5 separate regions of the Homo sapiens genome follow, and all the other regions are linked to region 1. The links are contacts of gene promoters, found by promoter capture Hi-C in blood cells and fetal thymus (Javierre and others, 2016). All regions are on one chromosome and are shown on one strand. The core of a region is centred on a gene start or on the middle of the fragment in contact, and the rest is flanking DNA. Distances in the headings are between cores, read along the strand shown. Region 1 holds the start of BTBD8 (BTB domain containing 8). Region 2 overlaps LOC105378856 (a long non-coding RNA gene). Region 3 overlaps EVI5 (ecotropic viral integration site 5). Region 4 overlaps CDC7 (cell division cycle 7). Region 5 overlaps EVI5 (ecotropic viral integration site 5).

What was found. Contacts are between HindIII fragments. The CHiCAGO score rates a contact against its expected background, and 5 or more counts as called.
Region 2: a fragment that was not itself captured here is called in contact with the fragment with the promoter of BTBD8 in region 1 in 1 of 17 cell types (non-activated CD4 T cells); the score reaches 5.2 in non-activated CD4 T cells.
Region 3: a contact is called between a fragment that was not itself captured here and the fragment with the promoter of BTBD8 in region 1, in 1 of 17 cell types (erythroblasts). The highest score is 6.0, in erythroblasts.
Region 4: a fragment that was not itself captured here is called in contact with the fragment with the promoter of BTBD8 in region 1 in 1 of 17 cell types (total CD8 T cells); the score reaches 5.1 in total CD8 T cells.
Region 5: a contact is called between a fragment that was not itself captured here and the fragment with the promoter of BTBD8 in region 1, in 1 of 17 cell types (naive CD4 T cells). The highest score is 6.8, in naive CD4 T cells.

Annotation. Positions count from the first base shown.
Region 1 is chr1:92,079,012-92,081,779 of GRCh38, forward strand. BTBD8 (BTB domain containing 8) reads left to right here and starts at 1,334. Exons shown (of 18, transcript NM_001376131.1): 1 at 1,334-1,709. The coding sequence starts at 1,561. RefSeq lists an enhancer at 2,607-2,768. The HindIII fragment of the contact is 1,063 bases long and covers 885-1,947 here.
Region 2 is chr1:91,492,188-91,494,955 of GRCh38, forward strand. The region is part of intron 1 of LOC105378856 (a long non-coding RNA gene); the gene reads right to left. Among named protein-coding and RNA genes, the nearest start is that of CDC7, 7.3 kb to the right of the region's middle. The HindIII fragment of the contact is 3,032 bases long and covers 1-2,768 here.
Region 3 is chr1:92,653,595-92,656,362 of GRCh38, forward strand. All of the region lies in intron 13 of EVI5 (ecotropic viral integration site 5), which reads right to left. Among named protein-coding and RNA genes, the nearest start is that of EVI5, 130 kb to the right of the region's middle. The HindIII fragment of the contact is 548 bases long and covers 1,245-1,792 here.
Region 4 is chr1:91,511,430-91,514,197 of GRCh38, forward strand. It overlaps CDC7 (cell division cycle 7), which reads left to right. Exons shown (of 12, transcript NM_003503.4): 5 at 168-261; 6 at 352-494; 7 at 1,629-1,878; 8 at 2,519-2,614. Among named protein-coding and RNA genes, the nearest start is that of CDC7, 12 kb to the left of the region's middle. The HindIII fragment of the contact is 295 bases long and covers 1,286-1,580 here.
Region 5 is chr1:92,601,788-92,604,555 of GRCh38, forward strand. All of the region lies in intron 18 of EVI5 (ecotropic viral integration site 5), which reads right to left. Among named protein-coding and RNA genes, the nearest start is that of GFI1, 120 kb to the left of the region's middle. The HindIII fragment of the contact is 975 bases long and covers 939-1,913 here.

The DNA of each region.
Region 1 (2,768 bases), core at 84-2,583:
ATTAACTGAGTTAAAACACACAGAGCAAATAGAGTAGCGTTTATCACATAATAAGGATTCAAATATAAGCTACTATTATGTTATCTTTGACACCCCTCGTTTCTACAGGAATAATTAAGAATCAATTATCCATCCAAGCATTTGGGAATTAATTTTAAAAAATCAATTATCCAGTTATATTTTTCAGAATTAAGATGTCTGAATATTTGAGAGGGGGCATTATCTGAAGAAATGGTTACCTCTTGGCCAATCTTATGGTACAAATACAAAGTCCATATATTCCCCTCCCCGCCTCCTTTTTTTTTTTTTTTGTTTGGTAGAGACAGGGTCTCCTTATGTTGCCCAGGCTGGTCTCTAATTCCTGGGCTCAAGTGATCCTCCCGCCTTGGCTTCCCAAAGTGCTGGGATTACAGGTGTGAGCCACCGCAACCTGGCCAATGTATTTTCCAAGCAATTACTATTCTTCACCTTGTGTGTAGAGTTTGTGAATGAAACAGATTTTTTTTTTTTTTTTTTTTTTTGAGACAGGGTCTTGCTGTGCTGTTCAGGCTGGAGTGCAGTGGTGCAATCATGGCTCACTGCAGCCTCGACCTCCCGGGCTCAAGCCATCATTCCGCCTCGCTTCCCAAGTAGATGGGACTTGCCCGGCCCGAAGCGGAACTACTGAGTTTCCTTATTTTGGAGGCAGTAATCAAATAAAAAATACCAAAACCTTAAATGATAATCAGTTTGCTACTTTATTTGGGACAAAAGAGAATTCTATATTTCATCCATCCATCACTTCACTGCTCAAAGACTTTGCCCCTTACCTATTTCTCCCTTCTTGGTCATAAATGTTAGGGCTTTATATGCAAAGCCCTGTGCTTTCTCCGATCAAGTCCAAAAGCTTGTATGAGCCACTCCTTGGATAAGAAGGGGATGGGGCCTTCTAGATGCTGTAAGTATCTCTTATATTGAACTCAGAATTGTTCTGACTGGCAGTTTATGAAGTTCTTCCCCTACTCCTCCCATCGCCAATTTTTCTTGCCCCAAACATTTATACCTCAGGGTTAAGAAGCCAGGTAAGTGAGGGGGTGTGACTCGCCCAGTCTTTCGTTGGAAAAAAGTGTAGACCTGTCAGGAAGACACAGCATAGAAAGGCTGCATGTGCTGATTTGAACTCGAGCCTCAGTAAAACATTGAAATGAATGAACACCAACCGGAAGGGAAAGAAGAGGGGAGGGGATAAGGAGCCTGAGGATTGGTTTGCCCCGCGGGATGGTCCGCGCCTGAGCCATGGGAGGCGGGGTGCCCGCCGGCAGAAGTAAACAGAGCGAGTACGCCTGCGCACGCTCTTCCTGGGTCAAGAGCCGGCTCGGTTCTGGGATTCTGAGGCTCCCCACCGCGGTCCGGCTTCTCTGGGAGACTGTCTACAAACCGACGAGAGGCGTCAACCTTTTACCCTAGGGGGCGGATTTGGGTAGGAGCCGAGCGTTCGGTCGGAAACGCCCCCTTCTTCCTCCTGGGCGGGGCAAGTGAGGCCAAGTACTGGGCCTCCAGGGCGTCGTACCTCTGTGAGACATGGCTCGCTGTGGGGAAGGCAGTGCGGCCCCCATGGTACTTCTGGGGTCCGCTGGAGTTTGCAGTAAGGGGTTGCAAAGGAAGGGGCCGTGTGAGCGGCGCCGGCTGAAGGCGACGGTGTCGGAGCAGCTCAGCCAGGATTTGCTCAGGTAGGAGGAGGCGGGAACTCTGGCTGCTTCAGTTCCTAAATCGCCCACCTCCGCCCCGAAGCTGAGGCTTCTTTCGGCTCTGCCTCCCCCTCCCTCAGCACTTGGTTCTCCTCGCCTCAGGCGACTGCGGGTCGTTAGCCAGTCTCCCCACTATTCCGAAAAGTGGCTTCGCTCGCCCTGAATAAACAATCCCGAGCACCTCGACACCATGTACCAGATTCAAAAGGAAAACAAAAAAAGCTTAGTCGTGTGCAGCACTAGTTTGCTAGAAATATCTCAACACAGGCACGCTTAGTTGTTTCCAATCACTAAGGTCGGGTGGATCCAGGTCCTGAAACTTACACAATTTTTAAAATAAGCTTATACTATTTTAAGAAAAATAATAAAATTAGGAAAACGATTATTTGAAATGAGGAAAGAACAATACTATAGTCTTGGAGGTCTCTTCTGAGGTCTCTTTAAACAATTTACCAGAAATGCTTCCTGATTGCGACCTGGATTCCTCTCTCCACCTAGAGCTCTCTGTAGCTCCCAGCAACTCTCAGCTCCTGTGAGGACCAAAGCAAATGGAGGGTCTTCCTGACATTTAACCTTTGTAAGCCTCATGGATATCCTTCTCGGGTTATTGGGAATCCAGCTAAAGTAATTTCAGCTTACAAAGAAATTGAAGCTTAGAAATATGACCTAGCTAATTTACATTTCCAGCAAGACATTGATTCTTAAACTTGGGTGGGCATCACTGAAATTTTCCATTTCTAACAAGGCCCCAAGTGATGCTAATGCTGCTGGCTAGGGTGACTATGAGAACCACTGAGGTAAACATAATTACTAATAATTAAAAGTTGTGCAGCATTCTACTTTTTTTTTTTTGGAGACGGAGTCTCGCTCTGTCGCCCAGGCTGGAGCGCCGTGGCGCGATCTCGGCTCACTGCAACCTCCACCTCCCGGGTTCAAGCCATTCTCCTGCCTCAACCTCCCGAGTAGCTGGGATTACAGGCACGCGCCACCACGCCCGGCTAATTTTTGTATTTTTAGTAGAGACGGGATTTCATCATGTTG
Region 2 (2,768 bases), core at 73-2,572, 590 kb before region 1:
TGGAAAAAGCCTTTAATATACTTTTCTCCATAGAAGATATACAAATGGTCACAAACACATGAAAAGATGCTCAACATCAAAAATTACTTGGGAAATGCAAGTCATAACCACAGTGAGATTCCACCTCACATCCATTAGGATGGCCACCATTAAAAAAAAAAAGTGTTGGCAAAAATATGGGGAAATTAGAACTCTGTGCACTGTTGGTAGAAATGTAAAATGGTGCAGCTGCTGTGGAAAACAGTATGGTAGTTCATCAAAAGCTAAAAATAGAATTACCATATGATCTAGCAATTCCACCGCTAGGTACATACTCAAAAGAATCAAAAGGGTCTCCCATGTATACCAATGTTTATAGCAGCATTATTCACAATAGCTAAAACATGGAAGCAACCCAACTGTTCATGACAGATGAATGGATAAGCAAAATGTGATACAGTCATCCCTTGGTATCCATGGGGGATTGGTTACCAGACCCCTCACAGATACCAAAATTCACAGATCCTCAAGTCCCTTATATAAAATGGTGTAGTATTTTCACATAATCTATCCAATCCTCCCATATATTTTAAATCATTCTAGATTACTTATAATACCTAATACAATGTAAATGATATGTAAATAGTTGTTATACTGTATTGTTTAGGGAATTATGGCAAGAAAAAACATCTGTATATGTTCAGTCCAGATGCAAACATCTATAGTTCCCCCTGAATATTTTCAATCTCAGTTGGTTGAACCCACAGATGTGAAATCCACAGATACAGAGGTTGTAGATGCACACGATGCATCTACATACAATGGAATATTATGTAGTCTTAAACAGGAAGGAAATTCTGACATATGCTACAACACAGATGAACCTTGAGGACATTATGCTAAGTGAAATGCGCTTGCCACAAAATGACAAATCTGTATGATTCTGCCAGAGTTACTTAGAGTAGTCAAATTCATAGAAACAGAAAGTAGAATGGTAGTTGCCAGGGTCTGGGGGACTAGGGAATGAAGTTATTGTTCAATGGGTGTAGAGTTTCAGTTTTACCAGGTGAAAAGGGATCTGGAGATGGATGGTGGTGATGGTTGCACAACTACGTAAATGTATTAATACCACTGAACTGTAGTATGCTTAATGATGGTTAAGATGGTAAACTGTATGTTATGTGTATTTTACCACAATAAAAAGGAAAAAATATATAGTTGAGGTCTAATCCAAATGAAGACCTTTGTGTTCAAAGAATCCTAGATTCCAATTTCAGCTCTGCCACTTACTGGCTTGTTGTCATCGGTATTTACTTAATCTTTTTTTTTTTAAGACAGGATTGCTCTGCCTCCCAGGCTGGAGTGCAGCAGCCTGATGATCTCAGCTCACTGTAGCCTCGACCTCTCAGGCTCAGGTGATCCTCCCACCTTCACCTCCCAAGTAGCTGGGACTGGAGGTGTGCACCACCATGCCTGGCTAATTTTTGTATTTTTACTAGAGATGAGGTTTCGCCCTGTTACCCAGGCTGGTCTCAAACTCCTAGGCTCATGCAGTCCACCCACCTCAGCCTCCCAAAAGTGCTGGGATTACAGGAGTGAGCCACTGCGCCTGGCCAGTCTTTTCTAAAGCTAATATTTCTGATCTATAAAATAAGTCCAATAATTAAAGAATTAATAAGATAACACATAAAAAGATCTTACTACAGTGCCCAACTCAGTGCCTATGACAGTGTGCATCAAATGCATCCCCTTCCCTTACATTCATTATGTCAATAATTCAAATATATATCAAATGGGATCAAGAAGGAATTGCGGAGGTTTTCCCTTATAGCACTGCTATTGAACTTTTCTCATTTTTGTTTGGGATGCTTGGATGAGAGAGAAGTCTCCCAGTTTGGTTGCTAGAATTTATGTCCCTCAATGCCAGTACTATGTTCTTTTACCTCATTCAATGTCCATTTACCTCATTAAGTGGCCCAAAGTGTCCATTTCCCTCATTATTCTAATATAGGCCTAAACTTAGATATTATGTACTTACCTCAATTCCAGCTGTACCCTGAGGAAAGGGGTGGAGGGCAGAACAACTTATCCCAATTCCCTCTCAATAATTCACCAGGTTCTTATACAGAAACAGGCCTATTTTAGAGGAGCAGTGGGCCACAGAGAAAGTGCTGTCACCAGCTGGCTAGCTCTTGTTGTGAGCCCATACCTTGTGTGCAGGGAGTATCTATTCTATTTGTTCATACTCTCCCACTGTTGACTCCAAAGAAGAATACTCTGTTTTGGGTGTTTTTCTAAGGAGAGGTGTGTCTAGAGGAAAGTGCTATGTTAGTGACCCTTCTTGAACCATGACTTTGACTGCTACTGACTATCATCTTCAGGAGGAAGCCAAAAAATGGCAGAGTCAAGTCTCAATCCATCATCCAGACATGTAGGATATGCATGGAAGCCCTTCCTATGTTTAGAGCTCAGGCCATCCCTTCCCTAACCCCTCATCCAACAGGGACCCACTGCTCACTAATCCACCTCCTCCAAAAAGCTACATCAGAGAGAAAGGGATGTATTTTCATTGGCTAATTTGTTCCTATGATCCACTTGTTAGAATCACTGACCTGGTTATTATTACTTCAACTGCTTTCTCTTGCAAAGGAGACCACATTTGGTAATGCTACAAACAACATTCTTGTCAATCAGCAATGATGAGATCAGGGTTGCTACTTTTGCTTTCTTGTAAGCCTTGTACTTAATCAAACTAGGTGCTTAGTCTCTTTTTTTCATCTCTTAAGGAG
Region 3 (2,768 bases), core at 269-2,768, 570 kb after region 1:
TGGGTGCATCAGAGCACACAGACTTTCTGGGGCAGACAGGGGTGACTGTGGTCTTACTGGCAATCAGTCCACCATATCTAAGCTTGTGCAAAAGGTGGGACCCCCTCCCCCTCTCCATGCAGAGCAGCAGCGTTCCTGCAAGGGAGAGGAGAGCCAAAAAGCTGTGTGTTTTGGACTGAGGAAGAAGACTCCAAAACAAAGACATTCTGGCAGCAAGCCAAGGGGCAGTCATCTTTTATGGCTCTCAGGTACATTGCAGCCTGGAGATAGACAGTGGTGTCTGACCAATTTGAGTGTTCTGAGTTTGGGGACAGGGGCATGACAGGGAGAGAGATTACATTCCTGCCTGCCCGGGCTATGGAACTGGGGTGGCTCCCTGCCTCTCTGCAGAGACCTCAGTGTACTTACCAGGAGCTTCCCTGCCACCCCCACTCAGGTCTTCTGCTTGTGCTCATCATTGGGGAATCCAAGGGCCGGCTTGGCTGTCCATCTCTGCCCTGACTTGTCCCCTGCTAGGGGGTGAGCAGAGAGCTCAAGCCACTGTACATTCCACAGCCCAGCCCATTGCCTGAAGCAACAAAGAACTTCCCCCATTAAACAAAGATCAAGCACCTGTCCATCTGCTTCTGTTGCAGCAGGCTCTTACCCACAACCACCACCTACTGTCCTGGAGGCTGAAATGCACAACCCAACAGAAAATCTGCTGACACAAGTGCACAGTGCTGGGAAATGAGATAAGATTCTTGAGACTTCCGCCATCCCAGCCCTGCAGGAAGCTGTGATACTACTCACACAGCCAGTACACTACTACTACAACTAGCATTTGAGAAAACCACCACACAAAGGCTATCTATATTCAAAGAACTCATACATTCTGCCAAGGAAGCACCCAGAACATACATTGTAGTTATATCCTTCAGAGGAAAAAAATTCCTGTCCAAATGAAAGTAAATTCAAAAATAAGAAGAAAAGATAAGTTTCTCCATATGAGAAGGAAACAGCCAAACAATTCTGGAAGTATAAAGACAGTGTTATGACATTCTCAAAAGATCACACTAAATCTCTAGCAATAGATCCTAACTAAAATGAAATCTCTGAAATACCATATAAAGAATTAAAAATACTGATTTCCAAGAAGCTCAATGAGATCTAAGAGAAAGCTGAATGAAAATCAACACCAAGAAATCTGAAAATCAAGTCTGGAAATGAAAAATTCATTGAAGAAATTATAAAATACAGGTAAAAGCTTTAACAGTAGACTAAACCCAGCAGAAAAAACAATCTCAGAGCTTAAAGACAGGTCTATTGAATTAGTCCAGTCAGACGAAAATAAAGAAAAAATAATTTTCAAAAATGAACAAAGCCTTTGAGAAGTATAGGGGTTATATAAAATGTCTAAACCTACAAGTCATAGGTATTCCTGAGGGAGATGAAAAAGCAAAAAGTTTGGAAAACCTATCTGAGGAAGTAATTGAGGAAAACTCCCTACTCTTGCTAGAGATTTAGACATCCAAATAGAAGATGCTCAGAGAACTCTAGGAAAATACAGTGCAAGAAGGACTTCACCAACACATATACTCATCAGACTAATGACAACATGAAGGAAAAAAAAAAATCCTAAAATCAGCAAGAGAAAGGTGTCTAATCATCAGTAAAGGAAATCCCCTCAGACTAACAGTGGACATACTGGCAGAAACTTTACAAGCCAGAAAAAAAATCACAATCCCATTTTAAGACTTATTAAAGAAAAAAAAAAACCTGTCAACCATGAATTTTTTATCCTGCTAGAACAAGCTTCATAAATGGAGAAAAAGTCTTTCCCAGACAAGCAAATGCTAACAGAATTCATCACCATTAGACCAGCCTTACAAGAAATGTTCAAGTGAGTTCTAAACATGTAAACAAAAGGTCAATACTCAACATCATAAAAACAGACAAAAGTATAAAACTTACAGGTCTTACAAAAAGGATGATCCAGTAATATGCTGCTTACAAGAAACCCACCTAATACAGACTGAAGGAAAAAGGGTAGAAAATGATATCCCACACCAACAGAAACCAAAAGCAGGCAGGAGTAGCTATCTTTGTATCAGATAAAACAGACTTTAAATCAACAACAGTGAAAAAAGACAAGGAAGGTCATTTTAAAATGATAACGGGATAAAGTCAACGGGAAGATGTAACAATCCTAAATATATATGTACCCGATATAGGAGGTACCCAGATTCATAAGACAACTACTACTGGGGCACATGTTCTCAGGACATCCTGAGACAGTGCCTTGGAAACAAAAATAAATAAAAAGAAAAAGAAAAGAAAACCAAAGAAAAACTACTCTATCTAAGAAAAGAGACAGCAAAACAATAATAGAGAAGGACTTCAACACCCCAATGACAGCATTAAAGATCACTGAGACAGGAAATCAACAAAGAAATACTGGACATAAATTGGACTCTAATAGACATTTATAGGACATTCTATTCAACAACCACAGAATATACATTCTTCTCATCAGCACATGAAATGTTCTCTAAGGCAGACCATATTTTAGCCCATGAAACAAGTCTCAATAAATTTTCAAAAATCAAAATCATATCAAGTCTCTTCTTGGACCACAGTGGAATGTAACTAGAAACTGATTCCAAGAAGAACTCTCAAAACTATACAAATACATAAAAATTCACCTGCTCCCAAATCATCTTTGGGTCAGCAACAAAATTAAAATAGAAATCTAAAACTTTTTTGAAACAAATGAACATGGAGACACA
Region 4 (2,768 bases), core at 183-2,682, 570 kb before region 1:
TTAACACGAGAACACAAGTCACTTGTGTTTATATTATGTGATGATGATTTAAGTCAGTTTTCTAGCAATATGTATGCATTGCTAAAATTGCGGTTTTTAAAATTAGGCATAAAGTTTCAGTCCCTCTGACCTTTCTTCTAAAAGTTCCTTGTGCATTTTTCCACTAGGGGGCAAGATAATGTCATGGGAGTTAAATACTGCTTTAGGAAGAATGATCATGTAGTTATTGCTATGCCATATCTGGAGCATGAGTCGTTTTTGGTAGGTTTTAATATTTCTTGAATTTTTATTAGCTAAATATTTAATTGCAAACAATATTTGTAACTCATTTCATTTGTAACTTTGTTTTAGGACATTCTGAATTCTCTTTCCTTTCAAGAAGTACGGGAATATATGCTTAATCTGTTCAAAGCTTTGAAACGCATTCATCAGTTTGGTATTGTTCACCGTGATGTTAAGCCCAGCAATTTTTTATATAATAGGCGCCTGAAAAAGTAAGTATGAAGAGTTACTAGAAAATATTTATCCTATTTCTTTTAAAAAACAATTTTATTGTCTATATTTAAGGTATTGAACATGATGTTATATATAGTACAAAAGTTACTATTGTGAAGCAAATATTTATCTCAGTTACCCATCTTATTTTTGTTTTTACGGCAAGAGCAGCTAAAATTTACTCATTTAGTATGAATCTCATATACAGTACAGTTTTATTACCTGTAATCTTCAGAGTGTGCATTAGGTCTAGATTTATTTATCCTACATATCTGCTACTTTGTATCCTCTGACTTATATCTCTTAGATATAATATAACATACTGCAATAGCCATGCACAGATTATTTCTGTTTCAGTTTCTTTGTGATTGGAAAGGGAAATTTGGTGATGAAGAAGATAAAATTGTATTAGTGGAATAATGTACATTATTAGATGTACTATGGTTCAGTGGAAATAGCATGAACTAACAGACTTAGAGTCTAATAATTTTTGACCTTAGACATGTCTCTTATCTCTGGACTTCATTTTTCTTTTCTAGTAAGTGAGGGGATTGGACCACATGATAGCCAATTTCCTGTTTTAACACAAAAGTTTTATTTTTATGTATACTTTTTAATGCTGATTATAATTATAGAGAAATTATAAGCTAAAAATAACATAAATACCTCTATATAATGGATCATATTAAACATAATAATATTATAACTTCTTTTTTGAGCTTTTATATGCCTGACTTTTTAATTTTCTTTAATTGGATCAGATTTTAAAACCATGATTTTAATTTTTTTAAGCTTTCTTAACTAGAAATTATCTGCTATGATGCCATCTCTGCCACCATCAGAGAACAACGGACTGTGTTTATGTTATGTATTCCTCTTCTGCCTTATTAACACAGACCACTGGAAAAAGAAAATTTGATTGTGGGACAACTCTTAATTTTCAATCCTGGTTAGCTGTTAAATTCTTACTTTGTCTGGAAAACTTATTTTTTTTTCTTTTTTCCAGAATGTTATAAATTCCTAATTGATCCCAAAAAGAATTACAGTTTTTATGAGGATGGTTTGAGAGTATTACAATGTTACTAAGCTTTAATTGCTACAGATAAGTAAAAATGCTTAATTTTGTCTCTTAGGTATGCCTTGGTAGACTTTGGTTTGGCCCAAGGAACCCATGATACGAAAATAGAGCTTCTTAAATTTGTCCAGTCTGAAGCTCAGCAGGAAAGGTGTTCACAAAACAAATCCCACATAATCACAGGAAACAAGATTCCACTGAGTGGCCCAGTACCTAAGGAGCTGGATCAGCAGTCCACCACAAAAGCTTCTGTTAAAAGACCCTACACAAATGCACAAATTCAGATTAAACAAGGAAAAGACGGAAAGGTTCTATCTCTTTTATTTCTTAAGTACCGACACTGTTTTAGAAATATACTCCTTCAACCAACAGAGGGAGATAGAATACTAGGATAGTACTTATAATTTAAAAAACTTTTTTTTGCATTTGTTATATGTATTCATTTGATTAAATTTTCACTAAGATTTGTACTGAATCATTTTGGTTACTATTTTAAAACTAAAATTTACTTTGTCAGTTTATAACATCTGTCATTAACTATTATGAAATCATATTTTATGACAAAAATGGAAAATATTAAATTTTCCCTGCATGTTAAAAAGTTCAGATTAATTATCCTTTTTAAAAGAAAGCATTAGTTATAGGGGAGGAATTCTGAAGTGTCTATCTCCATTTTAGCTGCACAGCAAAATGTAACATCCATGCAGGTGGTTTTTGAATTTTTTTTTAGTTATATATATTTGTGGACTATGATAACATTGTATGGGTGTTGAGTTCTGTCTAGACTATTTTCTCCTTTCACAGAAGTGGTTTGGTGCCTGAGAATGACTTGGATGCAGCTGTTTTTGTTTCATCTCACTTAACTCTTTCAAAACTATGGCAGAGTACAGCTGGCAGAAAGTGTTACAGATATAATCCTTATTTTCCTTGTTTTTGTTGGTATTGTAGGAGGGATCTGTAGGCCTTTCTGTCCAGCGCTCTGTTTTTGGAGAAAGAAATTTCAATATACACAGCTCCATTTCACATGAGAGCCCTGCAGTGAAAGTAAGTAATGTAGCTTAATAGCATAATGGTCAGTCAGTCATACACTGAAGAGAATTTAGGTAATAACTAGATTAACATTTATTATCAGAAATTTTTTTAAACTAGAGTTTGGCTTTGGCAGAAGGTATTACTGCTTTAAGCATTTAGTCAAAAC
Region 5 (2,768 bases), core at 176-2,675, 520 kb after region 1:
CATTTTAAACAAAAATCCTGCATACCAGGTTCTTCGTTTTAATAAATATTTCAGAATCAACAAAAAGAGTGATTTAAATTTTACTATTTTGTGATTAAGATGTATAGAAATATGGCAAATTCTTAGGATTTTCTTGATGTTTAGAAAAGTACAGACTAATGCTAAAATCACATACGATAGCATGATTTAAACAACTGATTACAAATATATTATGCAGTTGGCTCATGTCTGAGGTTTTTCTGAATATGTGCACTTTATGGGGACTACTACCAGCAGAACATAAAGGATACCTTTTTATAAACATACAAATCATAATGTGTTGTGGTTACTTTTGATCCAGATCAAAAAATGAAGTTATAATATAATATGTAAGTTTGGAAATTAATTACATTTGAAATTGAAATTTAAAGACAAAAGGAAATTTCAGGTGGGAAGAAAATTCTAGATGTTACAGCAAAGACTATTGTGACTTGGAGTACAATATAATTAAAGACTTTGAAAGACATAAGATTTTAAACATAGTATTTTGTCCATAGGGAAAACTTACTACTTTTATCATATTATACAAGAAGTAAGGCATAAGAAGTGACAAAACACATTTATTTTTATTAAAAAAATTTTTTTTTGAGACAAGGTCTCATTCTGTCACTCAGATTGGAGTGCAGTGGCTTGATCATAGCTCCTTGTAATATGGAACTCCTACTTCTGGCCTCAAGGGATCATTCCACCTTAGCCTTCCAAGTAGCCAGAGCTACAGGAGTGTACTATCATGCCCTCAGCTAATTTTTAAAAATTGTTTTGTAGAGACAGGGTCTTATTCTATTGCCCAGGCCGGTCTTGAACTCCTGGCCTCCAGCAATCCCCTGACCTTGGCCTCTCAAAGCACTGGGATTACAGGCATGAGTTACTGTGCCCTGTAAAAACATATTTATTTTTAAAGCTTTGAATTTTCTTTTGAAGATAGTTTTGATAATATAGAAATATGATAAATTTTCACTAAAAAATGGACTTGGAGCACAGTCAACACCACCAAAAAAAACAAAACAAAACAAAACCCAGGTACGTTGATTCAGCAAAATTAAAAACTTTTGTGATAAAAACACTATCAACAAAGAAAAGGCAACAAACATAATGGGAGAAAATATTTGCAAACCATATATATGATAAGAAAGTGATACTGAGAATATATAAATAACTCCTATAACTCAACAACAAAAACAACAAACAACCTGGTTCAATTAAGCAAAGGACCTGAATAGCCATTTCTCCAAAGAAGATATATAAATGCGAAATAAGCACATGAAAGTATGCCCAACATAGCTCATCATTAGGGAAATGCAAATCAAAACCACAATGAGATACCACTTCACACCCATTAGGATGGTACTTATAAAAACAACAACAGAAAATTAACAAGTGTTGGTGCAAATGCGGAAAAAATGAAATCCTCATGCATTGCTGGTAGAAATGTAAAATGGTGTAGGTTCTGTGGAAAATGGTATGGCAATTTCTTAAAAAAATTAAACAATTACTATATGATCCAGCAATTCCACTTCTACGTACTCAAAAGAAGTTAAAGCAGGGACCTGAACAGAAATTTGTACACCTGTATTCATAGCAGCATTATTCACAATAGCTCAAACATGGAAGCACCCTAAATGTCCATCAATGAATGAACAGATAAAAAATGTGGTATATACATACAATGGAATATTATTCAGCTTTAAAAATGAAGAAAATTTGTAAATATACTATAACATTATAAAAAATGGTTTTTCTTTCAATAATAAATTAACTTACTGTAAGTTTATTTATAAACTTCCAATTTTTTAAACTTTTTGACTCTTTTATAACATTTAGCTTAGCAAACATTGTACAGGTGTATAAAATTTTTTTTATATCTTTATTCTATAAGCTTTTTTCTATTTTTAATTTTAATTTTTAATAAATATATTTTTTGAAACAGGGTCTTACTCTGTGGCCCAGGCTGGAGTGCAGTGCTGTGATCATGGCTTACTGCAGCCTTGACCTCCCAGGCTCAGGCAACCCACCCACCTCAGCCTCCTAAGTAACCGCGACTGGGACTATAGGTGCACCACCAGGTCCAACTAATTTTATTTTGTATTTTTTGTAGAGAGGGAGTCTCACTTTGTTTGTCAGGTTGGTTTCAAACTCTTGGGCTCAAGATCTGCCTGCCTCAGCCTCCCAAAGTGCTGAGATTACAGGCATGAGTCATTACACCTGATGAACAAAAAATTTTTTAAGTTAAAAAAAAATTAAGGCTGGGCGCAGTGGCTCATGCTTGTAATCCCAGCACTGTGGAAGGCAGAGGTGGGCGGATCACTTAAGCCCAGGAGTTCGAAACCAGCCTGGCCAGCAAAGGGAGACCTCATTGCTACTAAATAAATAAATAAATAAATAAATAAGCTGGGTGTGGTCATGTGTGCCTGTAGTCCCAGGTACTCGGGAAGCTGATGAGGACTGCTTGAGCCAGGAGTTGGAGTCTGCAGTGAGCTATGACTGTGCCACTAAACTCCGGTCTGGGCAACAGAGTGAGATCCTGCCTCAAAAAAAAAAAAAATTAAAACATTTGTGTTAAAAACTAAGATATTAGCTTAGGCCTACACAGGGTCAGCACCACCAATATCACTATCTTCAACCTCCACATCTTGTCCCACTGGAAGGTCTTCAGGGACAATAACACACATGAAGCTGTCATCTCCTATGAAAACAATGCCTTCTGGAAAACCTCCTGAAGGATCTGAGAC